Regions from separate parts of the Homo sapiens genome. Here region 2 is linked to region 1. Evidence: promoter capture Hi-C in 16 types of primary human blood cells and fetal thymus (Javierre and others, 2016). All regions are on one chromosome and are shown on one strand. Each heading gives the region's core, a stretch centred on a gene start or on the middle of the fragment in contact. The rest is flanking DNA. Distances are from core to core; before and after follow the strand shown. Region 1 holds the start of TMEM38B (transmembrane protein 38B). Region 2 overlaps CT70 (cancer/testis associated transcript 70).

Region 1 (2,700 bases), core at 163-2,662:
GCTAGAAAGTGTGCTACAGGTCTAAAGACTTTTCTCTACGGGAAGTGCTTGCTTAGAAAACCACACGTGAAAAGTATTTGAACAAGTCTATTCTTTCTTGATAAGTAATGAAGTGTAGAGATTTACTACAATTTTCCTACGTTTTAAACACTTAGTGTTTAGGGCAGTATTTCTGACATCCAGCAAAATGCTGGTTACATAGTAGGCACGCAAAAAACATTTTGTTAAATGAATTAAAATTAATGAATACATATTCAGATAAAAAAAATTCTCCTTTTGCAGTGCATACACCCGTGAAGCTGTCACCTACCTAGCAGCTAATCACGTTTCTCCAATTTCCTGGTGCCAGCATAATCTGTTCACACATCAAATAAGTGTGCCAAGCTAGTTTTTTTTCTTACCCAAACCTATTCCTTCTTGTTTCCTATTTATCAGAATGCAACCACAATCCTCCTACTCACCCGTTCCTCATTTTATTTGACAAATGCTTCCTTTCCCGCCTGTACAGACTGACACTCACTGACGATATTCTGCTTCTACCCATGTTTCCCACAATTGGTCTCAATTTCTGCTGCCACAGCCTCCACTACCTTTTGCTTGGACCAGTGAATACCCTCTGATTTTCCGTTGTCAGTCGCTTCTCATCAATCTATTCTTAATCTTGTTGCTTCGTTGCACCTCTACTCCCTCACCTTCCACCAAACAACCCAGTTAGCGTAGAGATTAGGAGAAGAGATTCTGGCTCTGAGCTTAACATAGTGATTGATCAAGAATTTAACCTCTGGAGCCAAACTGCCTGGCTTTGTCTGCCATTCGAGGACTTTTCCCAACCTCATTTCTCACTTTGTAGTCAACCCAAAACACCTCCCTCCATCTCCCACCTAGCTTGTGTTTCTCACTTAACTTTTAAAGTCCAGCTCACATGTCACTTTACTCACTTCCCAGAATTGTAATCTTCGTTTCGAACTGCTCTCGCACGGCAGCTATACTTCTCAGTACCTGCTTTTGTACCATTATGTGCGTTTTTTCTCTTTTTATAAAAAATCTCTTTCAGGGAACGCATAGTTCTTGAGGTCAGGATATTATTGTTTTATTTTTATATCTCCAGTAAGTCACAGTGTGACTTGCACTGTGGTTGCTCGATAAATGTTAGGTGAATGACATCAATTTACAGAAATAAATCCAACTCTGAGCGTCTCCCCTTGAGGACCGTGTTTTGTTCATCTGCACGCTCTCCAGGTCCTGCACTGCGCCCAGGACCAAGAAGACGCTGGACCCTTACTAGGAGAACCGAGGCAAGAGCCGGCTGGAGCCGCGGGGAACCCGCTCGCCCCGCCCACCCGCCTAGCGCCGGTGAGCCTGCGGCTCCCGCGAAGCGCGGCCCCGCCCCCTCGGCGCCAGGGCGCACGCGCGGAGCTGGAGCCGGCGCGGAGGAGCGGGCGGCCGCGGCTGTGCCCTCTCCTACTCCTCACCGCGCGAGCGCGGGGAACCAGTAGCCGCGGCTGCTTCGGTTGCCGCGGTCGGTGGTCGTTATGGATTCTCCATGGGACGAGTTGGCTCTGGCCTTCTCCCGCACGTCCATGTTTCCCTTTTTTGACATCGCGCACTATCTAGTGTCAGTGATGGCGGTGAAACGTCAGCCGGGTGAGTGCGGGGCGCCGCGGGCCGGACCCCTCAGAGTGCTCCTGACGGCGAGGACCGTCTAAGTCGGGTGGGTCGGGTGGGTCGGGTGGGCGGCTGAGTGGCCGCTAGCCCAGACAGTTCGATGGTAGAGTTGGAGGGGCGCCAAGGGCCGGTTGGTCTGACTTACTGAGTGCAGATGGGGAAACAGCGTGGGGGAGGACGGAGGCTCTAGTACTCCTCAAAGGAGGCGTGACCTGGGGTCCGCGAGGCCGTAGCCTGGGCGAGCAGGGCCGACCTTGCCAACCGCCCGCAGAAGTCCCAGGACTGACAGAAGCTGCCGCAGCGTTTCGGAACCACAGATATCCGCGCCAGCCCAGGGCTTGGGCGGCCTCCTCGCGGTACCGCCACTCGCTCGCAGTGTCGCCACTCGCTCGCAGTGTCGCCACTCGCTCGCAGTGTTTGAAAGTCATGTGAGGAGACAGCAGGTTTCTGACTCAGTCTCTTGGAGTAATAGATGGTTGCGGACTACTCTCCAGTTATGAAAGTTGTACAAGCACTGAAACAAAAAGCCTCCTGTAGCCAGACCAGGATTCCCCTTCACGCAGTGTCCTAACACCCTGCCTAGCATGTGAGAAGCGAGTGCGTTCCCCTTTTCACAGTCACGACGGACACTGTACAAGCAAGAGTTACCTGGCGTAGTTTCACTATCTGCAGAATGGGGATATAGTCTTGAAACAGCATTTTGAGTTCTTTTAGCAATGCGATCAAGGGACAGTAGTTGTATTTTATTGGATTTTACACCAGGGTGCGTTTGCTCTAATACTGCTTTACTTTTGTAGTTATTCTACTGTGCTTTTAGTTGTATGGACCTCTTCTTTCTTTGAGGTCAGACATTTCTTTGCCTACTTTCTTTGTGTTCTTGCTGTCTTTCATCTGCCTTGCCCTACGGATAGTTGATGAGTGAGGTCTGGAGGATGATGCTGTATCTTTCTTATGGACTACTTACTGGTTTTAAAAAATCCTTAGACCTCAGAAATATTTTTCATTTATGTTGAAGTTTGTAGCTCAGTTTAAATC
Region 2 (2,700 bases), core at 155-2,654, 710 kb before region 1:
GCTCTGCTGGACAGAGACATGGAGGGGAGTTCATTAGTGAGCAGCATCTATTAGTTAGGATTAAACTGTGAGACATGGAGAACCCCAAATATCAGCGGTTTAAGTGGAAAAGCCTCGTATTTCCCTCTCGTGTGAAAGAAGTCTGGAGAAGCCAGGTGTGCTCCACACTACTGCTCTGCTTGCCTCACCCGCCTCTTGGCCTTAGATGACTGTTGAGCTTCAGTCACCATGACCCCATTGCAACCAACAGGAAGGAAGAAAAGGAGAGAAAAATGGCCTATTCCCTCCCTTTAAGGAAACTTTCCAAAAGTATCACAAACTCTTTCTGCTTATATCTAGAGTGTAGTCACATGGCCATTCCTAGCTGGACGGAAGACGAGGACACTTTGTGTTTTATTCCGGATGGCCAAGTGCCTACCTAAAAATGGGGGTAGAGGAGGCTTTATCACCATTGAGAAAGAGACAGAATCAGGAGAAGGTTAGTGGCTTCTGTCACACAAGTCCAGACGGTTAAGAGCCTATGACAGTCTCTTTGAAAAGATCCAGTAAAAGGCTGTGAAGATTACAGGATCTGAGAGATGCTGGTCAGGTGATTTCTGGTGTAGCAGTTAAGCTAGATGCTCGCTTCTCAAGTGTAATTCATTGGCCAGCAGCATGGACATCACCTGGAAGCTGGCTAGAACTGCAAAATCAGGCTCAACCCCAGCCCTGCTAAATCAGAAGCTGGATTTTAACAAGATCCCAAGTATGGGGCTAGAAGATCTCAGAAAAGAGAAAAGTTAGAAACTGGGGAGATTGGTAGCACAGACTAGAGACGTGGGAGTCTTGTAGGTAAAGTGATGGTTGGGCTTCTGTGTGCCAGTTGGCTCCTTAAGGAAGTGAATGTGAGACAGGAAAATAGGGAGTTAGGGTAACCAAGGGTTAAGATATTTGTTATGTTACAAATGGCAAAAGAACAGCAGGTGCAGCCAGTTCTAGGCAAGATTAGGCAGCATACAGGCCACATCCTCACTCTTGCGATAACAAGATAGAAGTTTCCACTTTAGCCTCGGATTGACCACAGGCCAAGTCTCCACTTCAGCCTCTGATTGGCCACAGGCCAGGTCTTCATAGGGTGTAACCAGTTGGAGGCCTCTAAAGGGTACCTAGGGGTGTTACCAAATTCTTTTAGTTTAATAAAAACTCTAAAGAACATGGCAACCCTGCCGTGCTTGGTGGCTCATGCCTGTAATCCCAGCTCCTTGGGAGGCTGAGGTGGGCGGATCACTTGAGGCCAGGAGTTGGAGACCAGCCTGGCCAACATGGTGAAACCCCATCTCTACCAACAACAACAACAATAAAAAAACAGAAATTAGCCTGGTGTGGTGGTGCACACCTGTGATCCCAGCTACTCGAGAGGCTGAGGCAGGAGAATCACTTAAACTGGGAGGCGGATGTTGCAGTGAGCTGAGATCACACCACTGCACTCCATCCTGGATGACAGAGTGAGACTCCATCTCAAGTAGAAGAACATTGTAGTTGGGGCTCTAGAGCCGCTTGCTGGAGCCTGCTCCCACTCTGTGGAGTATGAACTTTCACTTCAATAAATCTGCACTTTCATTGTTTCTGTCTTCTCTCATTGCTTCATTCTTTTGTTGCTTTGTGCATTTTGTTCAATTCTTTGTTCAATGTGCCAAGAACCTAGACAACTCACAGTCAAGACTTTCCATCCTGTAACAAATGCAGAGGTGGCCAGAAAGCTGAGTGCTTCAACTCAGGGATGAGAGTGGAAGAAATTGCCAGAAAATAATTAGGAACAAGCGAAAGAAAAGCACTTGGAAAGAAAGCAGTCTTGAAAACAAACTTTAAAAGAGTATCAGTGAAATACAGATCCAATTACCCTGCCCTGTGGACCAGGCAGTCCTTAATCCTCACAACAACCTTGAGTGGTAGGATCTATGATTCCCATTTCACGTGATGAAACCGAGCTTCAGAGATGATGGCTTGCCAAGATCACACACTAAATACTGACATAGCTCACTATAACATCTTGTAGAGATCTGACTAGTTTACAAAGCATGATTAAATGCATTATCTAATTTAAGCCTCACAATTACTTTGTAAAGTAAACAGAAAGTGGCTGTTAATTTTGCAAGTAAAGAATTCCAGGACTTTTGATTCTCAGTCCAGTGTTGTTTTGTTTTTCTCTCATTTTTCTTCCCTTATTTCTTGACACATTGATGATAATGAAGAATAGATGTGAGTACAGGATTCCTCAAACCTGAATTTAACTGTGTTTGTGAGGGTCCAGCTCAGGGACAGACATTCAGTAAACCCTCCAATGATAACTGATATTGTTGTTTTTCTTATAATTACAACTATTGGCTTTGTTCAATAAAGCAATATTTATAAAAGTAATTTATTAGAATGAGAAGTACAGAAACCAAAAATGGAGGGGAAATTTGAATGAAGATACGATGTCAGAAATGAGGGAAGGAACTCTAAATAATACTTCGGAGCCTGAACTTTGGAGTTAGACAAGTTGAGTTCACATGCCAGCCCTGCTGCTTATCAGAATGGGGAGTTTGGGCAAAGTGGCTAACAGCCCATCGCCTCCACTTCCTCATCTTCAAGGCTGCCACTTCACGAGATATTATTATGAAGATTGAAAGAGATAAAGTACATAAGATGCTAGCCCAATGCTCAGAATAAATATTTAAT

What was found. Contacts are between HindIII fragments. The CHiCAGO score rates a contact against its expected background, and 5 or more counts as called.
Region 2: a fragment that was not itself captured here is called in contact with the fragment with the promoter of TMEM38B in region 1 in 1 of 17 cell types (naive CD8 T cells); the score reaches 6.6 in naive CD8 T cells.

Annotation. Positions count from the first base shown.
Region 1 is chr9:105,693,129-105,695,828 of GRCh38, forward strand. It overlaps TMEM38B (transmembrane protein 38B), which reads left to right and starts at 1,413. Exons shown (of 6, transcript NM_018112.3): 1 at 1,413-1,644. The coding sequence starts at 1,533. RefSeq lists a silencer at 1,247-1,516. The HindIII fragment of the contact is 6,405 bases long and covers 1-2,700 here.
Region 2 is chr9:104,981,739-104,984,438 of GRCh38, forward strand. All of the region lies in intron 3 of CT70 (cancer/testis associated transcript 70), which reads right to left. Among named protein-coding and RNA genes, the nearest start is that of CT70, 8.7 kb to the right of the region's middle. The HindIII fragment of the contact is 3,395 bases long and covers 1-2,700 here.